Linked DNA regions of Homo sapiens: region 1 is linked to region 2. Evidence: promoter capture Hi-C in 16 types of primary human blood cells and fetal thymus (Javierre and others, 2016). All regions are on one chromosome and are shown on one strand. Each heading gives the region's core, a stretch centred on a gene start or on the middle of the fragment in contact. The rest is flanking DNA. Distances are from core to core; before and after follow the strand shown. Region 1 holds the start of MKLN1-AS (MKLN1 antisense RNA). Region 2 overlaps KLHDC10 (kelch domain containing 10).

What was found. Contacts are between HindIII fragments. The CHiCAGO score rates a contact against its expected background, and 5 or more counts as called.
Region 1: the fragment with the promoter of MKLN1-AS here is called in contact with a fragment that was not itself captured in region 2 in 2 of 17 cell types (fetal thymus and non-activated CD4 T cells); the score reaches 6.0 in fetal thymus.

What each region holds. Positions count from the first base shown.
Region 1 is chr7:131,323,845-131,330,077 of GRCh38, reverse strand. It overlaps MKLN1-AS (MKLN1 antisense RNA), which reads left to right and starts at 2,299. Exons shown (of 6, transcript NR_125364.1): 1 at 2,299-2,463; 2 at 3,143-3,272; 3 at 5,653-5,775; 4 at 6,210-6,233. MKLN1 (muskelin 1) reads right to left here and starts at 2,202. Exons shown (of 18, transcript NM_013255.5): 1 at 2,081-2,202. The coding sequence starts at 2,178. RefSeq lists enhancers at 1,284-1,860, 1,867-2,166, 1,861-2,437 and a silencer at 2,217-2,376. The HindIII fragment of the contact is 3,998 bases long and covers 74-4,071 here.
Region 2 is chr7:130,071,367-130,077,609 of GRCh38, reverse strand. All of the region lies in intron 1 of KLHDC10 (kelch domain containing 10), which reads right to left. Among named protein-coding and RNA genes, the nearest start is that of KLHDC10, 4.0 kb to the right of the region's middle. The HindIII fragment of the contact is 2,507 bases long and covers 3,413-5,919 here.

The DNA of each region.
Region 1 (6,233 bases), core at 1,050-3,549, 1.3 Mb before region 2:
CAACCCAGCAGACACAATATTCTCCAACTCCAGCTCCATAATACTCAACTATACTCCTTCAAAGAAAAAAGCTTAGATTACTCTTCTAATACTTTACTTTAAATACAAATTATACTGCATTTGTCAATAGAATGTCATAAGGATTAAACAAGATATAGTAAGTGGAAGTGTATGAAAGTTACGTATGTATTAAATACTATTTTATGTATGTACTTGAGAAAATTGCAGCAATGTATTTCTCCAATCTCAAATTGTTGCTTTCTAACTCCAAAACTAGTGTTCTGCCCACTGCAAACCAGGGGCCAGAGTAACAAGACACAAAAGATTAAAGTTGCCATCCCACTAAATCATTTCCTGCTTGAAATGTACTTTCTTAAAATGTCTATACAACAGATAACGCGGATGGTACTTGTGTTATCCAAGCCTCAGGCCTACATCAAAAATTTAAGGAGTGACGTCCTGGAAATACGCTAATTCAAGACCAGAAAAATGTCTCTACAGTTAGATCAAACAATGCCACACCAATTCCCAACTGTCCATAATCCTAGCCTGGGTATAGAAAAAAGCTGAATAACTTCAGATCCAAGAACAAGATAGCCCAGAATATCAGAGGTCAAGTACATAGGGCCACATTTCAACTCCAACTACATGGCTGGACTGTTTATCTGGCTCACTCTCAAATTCAAAGTTGGGTTTCAGCATCAATCAGGGATATGGCCATGAATAGGCTACGCAGGCCAGATCAAACCACAGGTCACTTGGCACCCTTCATTGGGCCAGATCCTACTGAATGCCAACCCTTGACCTGGTGAATAAAATGGGAGGCTGGCAGTCATGACAGATTCTTCCAGTTGCAGCTCCATTTTGAGATTCTTCATTGATATAACCAGTGAAATCAAATTTGGATAAATGTGAAGAATTTCTCAAATACAGATGGAAAACTTACTTGAGTATGCTTCACAGATCTAGTCACTTTTTTGTTTAGTAAAATACTCAGTAAAATATATTATTCATTAATTTGTTTCGTTCATAAAATCGTTTCGGTCCTGTGAGATGGTTAGAGGGACAACTAGCACTTTTCTTCAGGATCTGCACAGATCTTAACCCTTTACTAAGCCAGTTCCTCCACTAGCATGTAAAATTGGAGTTAGATCTGCTCCTCCTTTCAAAGATAAGCCAAAGATAAATAAGATACTATGTAAGAGTATTTTCAGCATTTCAGAAGGAATTTGCTAGAGAAAAAAACACCACCAACAAAAACCTAACAATGCAACTGAATTTTTTTAACACCTAAATCAGGGATCAAGACAAAGCCGGTGTTGAAAATCAAATTCATTAAAGCCAGATGTTTCTATGTTTGAGTTTCCGGACTGGGAAACGTGTCTGTGTCCATACAAACCCATCTTCTAATGAGCCGTAATACTGAAATTCTTCGGTAACGTCCCTCCTTCCCACTCCCTATCTTTTTCAGAACTTCCAGGCATTAAAGACAACGTCTGCCAATCCTACAAGTTCTCCCCGCCTGCTAGGATTCAGATGGATTCCACAACTTTTCAGCCTTCCGTGACTTTTAACACTACTCTAGAGCTAATCACTTTTAATGACCCCACTCTGGAATAGACACTCCTCGGCTTTACACTTTGTCCCGGCAGCAATCGACTGAACTGTCCCCCGACGCCGACCACCTCGGACGACCTCAGACATTCGGGGTAGTTTGCCCGCGGGCAGGGCCCCGCCAACTCCGATTCCTGCCCCAGAGCCGTCCGCCCCCCAAGCCCTCCTCAACCTCAACCCCCAAATCCCAAGCGCAGAACCGCTGGGCTTCCGGTTCTCCTGTGCGCGCCCCGGATCCGCCACACACCTCGCCCCTTCTCCCTGGGCTCGCTCTCCGGACCCTAACCCCTTCCCGAGCGAGGCCGAGCAACGCTCTCAGCAGCTGAACTAAGACTCCGGAGGCCGCACGTCCCCCTCAGCAGGCCCCGCCTGGGCCTCTCGGCTCGGCTGCCCTCCATTGCACCCCTGGCCCAACCGTGCTGACGCGGAAGGGTGGGGCAGCACGAGCTCAAGGCCCGGCACTTACTCGGGAAGGTAGGTGGAGGAAAAGGAGCTCCACTTGTGTAGCGCGTAGGGGAGAAGCCGGCACTCGGGCGCCGCAGCGACAGCTCCGCCAGCCGCCATCTTGTCAGCACCGTAGCGGCCGCCACCGACCGCTGGCAGCGAACGGGAGGAGGGGAGGGGGCGTGGCCTGCTCTTAAAGGGGCCGCCGCCCTCCCCGGCCGCCCGCGCTCCCCGCCCCGCATCGTTACCCGAGCCCAGCGCCGGGCCAATGTCCTATCTCAGGGTTTCCCACGTCGCTCGCTCCTTGACGGCTGACCGACACTGGGTCTGAGGTGTAAGCGCTTTCCAGGCCCTTCCCTGGGGCTTGGAGGGGAATGGCGCAAAGGACTTTTCTTACAAGCAGAGGTAAGGAAAAGCCGAGATGATTACGAACAGAAACACGTTGTAGTTATGGAGCAGGAAGGGAAAATAAGAAGACCAAGTTGGAAAAGGGACGCCTGTGCGCTTTTGGAAGCCACCGCCCTCGCCAGTTTATAAGTCCTTTACGGAAACAACACTGAAGGGAGCTGGAGGGCAGTAGCTAATGTGCTGTCCTCCTGGAGTGGTCCTGGTTTTAAATGTCTTGTCCCCGCCTTCCAGAGTCAGATGGAGACAGGAAAAGGAAATGGTCCCGTGTCCTCCTACCCTGTTTGGTTTGCAGTCTGTGATGCCCTTCATTGTAAACATTTCTTGTGAGCCGCATCCTACTAATCTTGTGGCATTGGTTTGCTCGGGAATGACGTTCACCCACAGACCTGAAAAGTCCTTACAGAGTTGGGAAGCTGCGTGTCATCATTTTTTCAGTTGGCAAATCTGCCCACTTTGAACTGACATAATTGTAGCCTAAAAGTTCAGAGAGAGAGTAGTTCAGGAAAAAGACTATTCCTTCTTCTTAGAGGGAACAGCAGCCCTGAAAACTATGTGGACATCATACCAGCTTCTTACAACAAAAGGTGCACTTGGTCTAAATTATCTGGCAGCTCTAGATAACGTTCTCATCAAGTACCTGTTTGTTGTAGTTATGCATATTTATTCCTTGGCTTAGCCACTGCAGTTACCAAAGAGTATGTCGCTTATTGTCTAAGAGGTTGGACTCCTGAAAGCCTGGACAGTGTCATCATCTTCACCTGAAGAGTGGAAAAATTCAAGCAAAGAGTTTCTCAGGAAATGACCAAGTGAGTCAAAACACCTCAATAATTGTATTCTCTTCCCGTTGTAATCATTAACCTGCCGAAATTCCCTCCAGTCCTTTCCTGACTTCCTGTTTCTATAGATGGAAATTTTAATAGTGGGCTCTACTAGGATATCAAATCAAAAAAGCCAGATAGAAAGGCCAGGCCCGGCACGGTGGCTCACACCTGTAATCCCAGCACGTTGGGAGGCTGAGGTGGGTGGATCACCTGAGGTCAGGAGTTCGAAACCAGCGTGGCCAACATGGTGAAACCCCGTCTCTACTAAAAATACAAAAGTTAGCTGCGTGTGGTGACATACACCTATAATCTCAGCTACTTGGGAGGCCGAGGCACAAGAATCACTTGAACCCAGGAGGCAGAGGTTGCAGTGAGCCAAGATCACACCACTGCACTCCAGCCTGGGCAACAGAGTGAAATTCTGTCTCAGAAAAACAAATAAAATACAATAAAATAAAAAATTACATGTGCTTTCTGTGTTGCAGCAGGTTGGAAAAGCATGTGTTCCTTAAGGGAATGCTGTAACTGTAGTGACTTGGGTCGGGAGCTGCCAGAGACAGTGGGAAAGGGCCAGAGAATGTTAGCCCCAGAGATGATATAGTGGTTATCTTTGAAGAAAATAGACACTTTAAAGGGGAGGAATTAACTCACTCCAATTCCTTTGGGCCCCAGATTTTATAATTCCACTTCTTACCTTAATGTAAGTCAAGTCCTTGTTCTTTTCCAGACATAGTTCCTGAGCAATCTTTTTTAAAAACACATGTTAATTAGTTCTTCTTAAGCTTAAATCCTTTTGGTGACTTTCAATACCCTTCTAAACTGTTTAACAGAGGCCCTTCATAACCTGCCTTGATTTTTCTCTCCAGCTTCCTCACCACCACCCCCCCCCCACTTTTCTCCTTTGCGCTTTTGACATCTGCCCACTAACTAGCACACTGAATTTGTTCCCATAGAGTCCTTGTTCTCTCTAGCCTCCGGAGCTTGCTCTAAGCCAGGCATGGAATATTCTTTCCCATTCTTTACCTGGCTAACTCCAGCTCATCCTGTAGACTGTTTGGTCCTGGAAATTTTTTTGGTTTTTTTTTTTTGAGACAGAATCTCACTCTGACTCTGTCACCCAGGATGGAGTGCAGTCACATGAACATGACTCACTGCAGCCTTGACCTCCTGGGTTTAAAGGATCATGCTGCCTCAGCCTCCCATGTAGGTGGGACCACAGGCAGACATCACCACACCAAGCTACTTTTTAAATTTTTTTGTAGACACAGGGTTTCACTCTGTTGCCCAGGCTGGTCTTGAACTCCTGGGCTCAAGCGATCCTCCTGCCTCGGCCTGGCCTCCCAAAGTGCTGGGATTACAGGTATGAGCCACTGCGTCTGGCCGAAAATCTTTCTTCAACACCTGCTCTGGGATTAGGTGACAGTTTTCTTCATTTTTTTTTTCCTATGCAAGCTAACACAGGATAGGTAACATTTTTTACATTTCTCTTAGCACTCTAAGTTTCCCTCTTTATCTTAGCACACATCACAATATATTTTAATTTTCTCTTTTTTCCCCTTTCTTTCTCTCTAAATGATAGCTCCCATGAAGATAAGAGTCATACATATCTTGTTCACAGTTGTATCCTCAGTCCTGTTGATGTGTCTAGCAAATAAAGATGTTCAGTAAATATTTATCAAAGAGTGAATGAATAATGCTAAAAGAGAACTTTAATTAGAGACTTCTGAGTTGCAAAGGAAAAAAAAAATGCCAGCACTTCTCAGACTACAAACGTGTATCCCTGAGGTATAATTGCTACTCAGAAGGTAAAGACCCAGGATAGCATGGCTTTCCTGCATCACAAATTTTATAAATGGTAAAATAATTTAAAGCATTCCTATGTTAACATACAGACAGCTATATTATGATACCAAGACGAAAATTTGTTTAAATGTTAAGAAAAGAACTTTATCTGAGGAATGCAAATCCTTTTAAATTATGAGGCCCAGAGAGGCATTAAAGTGAAACAGCAATCCTGTCCTTCTCCCCCACTTTTGAACTGTGTATTTGTCTCTTGAAACTGCTTACTATTGCCACAGAAGCTAAACATTAACCTACTAATTAATGCTGCACCAGACATTATAACCCTCATCCTATAGTTTCATAATGTATAGCCAATCAGTAGCTTGATTTATTTTAATGTAAATTCTTGGTAAATAACTCAGGCACTGCCTCATCTTTCCCTTTAAAAATCCACTTGTAACTGCTGCTACTCAGAGTGTATATTCAAGGCAACCTGAATCTATGTTCCCAGGTTGCAGTCATCAAGCTTGGCCCAAATAAACTCCCAACTTATATTAATTTTGCCTCCGCTTCTTCCTTTTAGGTAAAACATCTGGAGTAAGTCAGCAGGATTCACAGTGACTCCCCCCAACCAGCTGGTGGTGTTTCTCTCTGAAAGCAGCGCTTGGTACCAGTGTGAACTCTCTTCCTTCAGAAGTCTCATCAGGTGTTTCAGATGAGTTCTCCGGAATTTGGACCTCCTACTCTTGGGTTGAAGGTCTAGACTTTATTTGGGCTGTTTTTCAAACCCTTTCTTTAAGTGTGAGGGCTTCGGTCTCTGTCTTTGGACAGAAGATTCGGGTATAGAGCTCTGCAGGGAACTGCCTTTTTTCCCTCTCTGTCTTACAGCAGAGGTGCAGGTCATGGTTTTTCTGCCTCTGCCTCAGAACCAGGGGTTTGGGTCAAGTTTTTTTCACCTCTGTCTCACAGCAGAGGTTTGAGTGAAAGAACTGGCAGTTAGGCACCAGTGGTTTCATTTTATATCGTATGTGTTTGAGATAGCAGTTGTTTACTATCACTTGAAAATTCTGAATTAGTCTTTAATTTTAACTAATTCCTGTTAGTTCCTAACTGAAATGTGTACCCCTTTTGCTCTTCCAGGTGGACGTAATACGAGGGTCTGGT
Region 2 (6,243 bases), core at 3,417-5,916:
CACTCCAGCCTGGGCGACAGAGCAAGACTCCGTCTCAAAAAAAAAAAAAAAAAAGAAAGAAAAAGAAAAAAGAAAGTAGTAGAAACCCCATTTACAATAGCAACAAACAAGATAAACACCAAGGAATAAACATAATAAGAAATGTGAGGCCTATATAAAAAAATAAACAACTTTTTAATGTTGATAGATACAAAACAATACTTGAATGACAATAAATACATATACTGTTTTTTTTTTTTTTTTTTTTTTTTTTTTTGAGACAGAGTCTTGTTCAGTCACCCAGGCTGGAGTGCAGTGGCACAATCTTGGCTCACTGCAACCTCTGCCTCCCAGGTTCAACAATTCTCCTGCCTCAGCCTCCCGAGTAGCTGGGATTACAGGCACCTGCCACCAAGAACGGCTAAGTTTTATATTTTTAGCAGAGATGGGGTTTCCCCATGTTGGTCAGACTGGTCTCAAGCTCCTGGCCTCAAGTGATCCGCCTGCCTCAGCATCCCAAAGTGTTGGGATTAAAGGCGTGAGCCCCCATGCCTGGCCACATATACTGTTCTTGAACATAAAGAAATGAATATAGACCCTGTTTTTGAACCTCAAAACGATGTCAATTATCTCTAAATTAATCTATAAATATAATACAATACCAATAAAAATGCCAACAGGACAGAGGAGCAGGACTTGGTTAGCTAATTCTAAGCCATATAGAAAAATAAACAAAGAAAACTTCCCAGGAAAACTCTGGGAAGTAGAATGAGGGAAGATGATAACCAAGGAATAGAGTCATTAGGTATAAATAGGTAATCTGATCAATGAAACAGAATAAAAGTCCAGTAATAACCTCAAACTGTAGGAACTAAGTACACCTATAGACAACATTTCAATCAGCAGGGCAAAGCTGAACTAAATGAAGGACACTGCCATAACTGGGCAGCCATCTGGAAGAAAAGTATAGTTGGATTCCCACCTCGACACTTTATTTAACTTACATTTTGTGTGGGTAAGTGCATTTAACTTAAAAATAAAATTACAGAAGTACCTGGAGAAAACACAAGAATATTTAATTTGAATTAGAAATAATAATAAAATAGGAAAGGCCTTTCTTATGACACAAAACCTAGACTCTGAAAAGACTGATAAATTTCACAACAAAACATTTAAAACATTTAATTTCTGATGAAAAAATAGACCATAAACAAAGTCAAAACGCAAATGAAAAACTGTGAAAAATATCTGCAACGTGTCAATGGCTAAGAACTGATTTCATTAAAATACAGAGTTCCTATAAACCAGGGGTCCGCAAGCCCCAGGCCATGGACCCCTGGTACCGGTCCATGGCCTGTTAGGAACCTGGCCACATAGCAGGAGGTGAGTGGTGGGCGAGTGAGCATTCCCGCCAGAGCTTGGCCTCCTGTCAGATCAAGCATTAGATTCTCATAGGAGTGCTAACTCTACGGTGAACTGTGCATGCAAGGGATCTAGGCTGTGCACTCCTTTTGAGTCTCTAGTGCCTGATGACCTGAGGTGGAACAGTTTCATCCTGAAACCATTCCCCCCACTCCTCCACCCCACCATCCCGGTCCATGGAAAAATTGTCTTCCACGAAACTGGTCCCTGGTGCCAAAAAGGTTGGGTACCGCCTTTATAAACAATATGAACCATCCCAATAGAAAAATGAACAAAAAATATAAACAGATCTATAGATAAAGGAAACAAATAAATGGCTCTTTTATCTACCTATTGGAAAGACACTTAAGAAAACTATTCCTATTAAACTGACAATTTAAATAACGTTTGATAACCCACTCCGTTACCAAAAGAACAAGGAAGACAGCACTCGAACAACAACAGGGAAACATAAACTTGAAATTTGACAGAATCTATCAAAATTTAAGCAGTAAACATAAATCCTTTGACCCAGAAACTGTACTTCTACAAATTTATCCTAAAGAAAGACTCTCTCATGTGCAAAAGTTATATATGTATAGGGCTATTCATTGTATCACTATTTGTATTAGCAAGATTGTAAACATCTTAAATACCCATCCAAACAAAGGAATGCTACCATCTCCACAAAGTCCCTCCCGTCCCCCCTGAACCTGGAAAAAATATACAGGAAATGTATCATTGGTTGCTTCTAGGGAAGGCAGTCAATTAGCTGGGGTCAAAGGAAGAAGAAAAACTTGCCTTTTACCATATACTTTTTTGTATCATTTGGATTTTATACACATTACTTACTTAAAATTTTTAAGTTAAGACTACAGTATTATTTTTACCCAGCTTTACCAACTGTTACATTTTTCCTTCTTTTTCTTTGTCAGTTTTCCAGTTCCCATGTTAGCAACAATGTTTAACTGTTTTCCCAGCTAATCATGGTATTTAATCAAACTCACACAGTTAAATCACAACAGCTACCTGAATTCCATTGCCCCATGAACCCCGCGCTCCTGAGCTCTCTGCATACTTATTCTACAAAAAGCACAATTCCCTGTTCGTTACTGGGTGTATAGAAATTATGAGTTAGTAAAAATCCAGGAGTAAAAAGCTATTAATTTCTTGGCCTATGAGGCAAACACATAATCACTAGTGAACTTCAGAAAACAGGAGAAAGGCAAGTGCTTAAAAAAAGGTTTCACAAACTATTGTTTGTGCTGTCGCAATGGATGCAGAGTCTAATCCACTACTTTACATTAAAGAACCTGATTTTGGCCAGGCACGGTGGCTCACGCCTGTAATCCCAACACTTTAGGAGGCCAAGGTGGGTGGATCACAAGATCAGGAGTTCGAGACCAGCCTGGCCAACATGATGAAACCCCGTCTCTACTAAAAATACAAAAAGTAGCACAGTGGCGCGCACCTATAATCCCAACTACTCAGGAGGCTGAGGCAGGAGAACTGCTTGAACCTGGGAGGCAGAGGTTGCAGTGACATTGCGCCACTGCACTCTAGCCTGGGTGACAGAGCAAGACTCCATCTCAGAAAAAAAAAAAAAAAAAGAGAGAGAACCTTGATTTTAACCATCTATCCAGAGTCAATGTGGCTAGAGGATTGAACCACACTAACCAAACTCACTAGACACTAACGTGTTATATATAATGCCAATGCGTTAATTTAGAATTTTAAAAATATATGTATATGTATATGGCATATATATACGCATATGTGTGTATATGTATACGCACATACATCTCAAGAGTATCAAATCATGCATATCAAGGAATCACACACAAATGGTAAAGTATGCCCAAGGAGAGCCACATGATGCTATGAGTGTTACAGAGAGAAGAGACCAAGTCAGAAAGTCACGGAAGGCTTCCATGTAAAAAAACATTTTGATCAAACTGAGATCTAATGGAAGAGAAGTTAAAACAAGAGAATGGAATGAGGAGTAAGAAGGTTCTTGGATGACGGAAAAGCTTGTGCAATGGACCTGGGGCAGGAGGAAGCATGATACATCCAAGGGGGCAGAAAAAGATCAATGACCAAGAGAACGTAACACAGGATTAACTGTAGAGTTAGAGAGGAGTCAGACGACACAGTGCCTTTGAGGCCATGTTAAAGATTTTTGCCTTATCCTAAGAGCAATAAAAAGGTTGTGAGCAGGGATGAGAATGTATTTGGGCTTGCAAAAAGACTGGTGTGCTATATGAATTGAAGGGCAAGAGTAGAAGCACGAATACTGCTTAAAAAGCTCCTGCAGGAGACCTAAGTGAGGGATGGTGGCACCGTGGATTGGAGTTATGGCAGGAGTAAAAGAAACGGACTTGGTAAATGATTACACCTGAAGTGCAACGGAGAAGAAAATATTGAGGAGGATGACCAAGTTTCAAGTTTGCATAACTGGATGGATAAAGAAGCTATCACTGAAAGAGAATGAGAACACTCCAGGAAGACCAGGTTGTTTTGTTTGGTTTCATTGGGGGCTGGATGGAGGGTTGAGATGTAAAAAGTAAGAAAAGGTTCTAAGTATCAGTAACTGGAAGTCTTGGTAGAGAAGGATGAAAAATGGAACATGGGGCTGGCTGGGCGCTGTGACTCACGCCTGTAATCCCAGCACTTCGGGAGGCTGAGGCGGAAGGATCACTTGAGGCCAGGAGTTCGAGCCCAGCCTGGCCAACATGGCAAAAACCCATCTCTACCAAAAATACAAAAAATTAGCCGGACGTGGTGGCCCGCACCTCTAATCCAGCTACTTGGCAGACTGAGACAGGAGAATTGCTAGAGTTCGGGAGGCAAAGGTTACAGTAAGCCAAGACTGTGCCACTGCACTCCAGCCTGGGCCACAGAGTGAGGCTCTGTCTCAAAAAAAAAAAAAAAAAAAAGACAAATAGGATTTAGAGGTCAAAAGAGAGAGACAGTGAGCTATACTATAGTTTTTTGTTGTTGTTGTTGTTGTTTTTTAATTTTTAACTTGAGATGTGGTCTTGCTTTGTTGCCCAGGCTGGCCTTGAACTCCTAGGCTCAAGTGATCCTCCCACCTTGGACTTTCAAAGTGCTGGGGTTACAGATGTGAGCCACCACGACCAGCCGCTATAGTACACTCAAAAAAATAAAAAATTTGGCTGGGCGAGGTGGCTCACGCCTGTAATCCCAGCACTTTGGGAGGCTGAGACAGGCAAATCACCTGAGGTCAGGAGTTCAAGACCAGCCTGGCCAACATGATAAAATCCCGTCTCTACTAAAAATACAAAAACTAGCCTGGCGTGGTGGTGGGCGCCTGTAATTTCAGCTACTCAGGAGGCTGAGGCAGGAGAATTGCTTGAGCCTAGGAAGTGGAGTTGCAGTGAGCCGAGATCGCGACACTGCACTCCAGCCTGGAGGACAGAGTGAGACTCCATCTCAATAAATAAATAAATAAATAAATAAATTTAAAATAAAAGGTTTTATCTCCAAGGCCCGTCAACCAAGCCTAGACATCCTATTCCTCCCCATCACCTAAAATCTTTTAAAATCTATCAAAATGCAAGAAAAGGGAGAGGCTTAAAATGCAATACCTAGCAGAATAAAGAATTGGTATGAAAGAATTTCAAACTACATAATACATTGAGGTATCAGATGTGTCCCAATTTTGAGAATGAGTAAAGGAGCAATGAAGTGTCAGTCAAGAGAAAAGGGAAGCAGAAAAAAGAGACTGATGACCCCGCTTTACAAATTTTCACAGTTTAGACACGTTTATCTTTACCTCCGGATAAATGGCTGTTCTTGGTCTTGTGTGCTAAGGGAATGCAGAAATAGCTCTACACTGAAGCCCCTTAGCAGAAATCATGGCTTCCACTGCCATCACGTGGTTGAAGTGAGGAAGTGCACCAAGCAGGTTCTAGGAACCTAGGAATGCCTACTTGAAGCCCATGGTATAATTAATCCGTGATCAAAGACCTAAAGATTGCGGTAGTAGAGGGCAAACTGGTGACAGTGTTTGCTAAGAGATTCATCTTCTAAGCTGCCAATACACAAAAATCTAAGTTTTTATTATTAATTGGGAGTAAGAAAAAAGATTGCTCCTTTTTTCTTTTTCATGTTAAAGATCGTATATTTAGCAATTCTAGGATGCCCAGTCTGATATTAACGTCTCAAACCCAACTTCTGGTATATTATATGACTACTTACAAATGCCTCGATTTAATGCATATAAATGGGGTAATGTACATTTCTAGCACACATCAACAACCTCATCACGAACATAAGCAATTGTCTCATTAAATGTGCTAAATTCCCTTTGTCATCTTCAATTTAATCAAATAATAATTTTTGACTAGAAGTATAAGGTACAGTCTTAAGCACAATTCATAAAAACCAATTCATCATGTTCTCAAAACTCATCAGCTAAACAAATATATCACTAATATAATCAATATTATTCACAAAAAACACGATGAATAATTAACACATCATTCCTGATAGTTCTTTTCATAGTAAAAATAAGCTTGCCCAGTGGGATATTTGACGTTCTCTGCATTATTTAATTCCCTACCTTCCTTCTACTAGATTGAATATTCAATTACAAACATACCTCTTTAAAATTGTCTACACATACATATCCACTTGATTTTATTTTGTTTTCAAAAGCATCTGAACTCAAGGCTAGGGCACTGTAGACCAAAATGTCAAATAATTGTATTGGGTACATTTTTCCAATTCTCAGTTGTTTTTATATTGTAAACACAGCATAATTGTGTCACTAAGTATATTTTTGATCTTCACTTTCTCCCCTTAAAACCTAGACACCATTATCCTGTCTCTGAACATTCC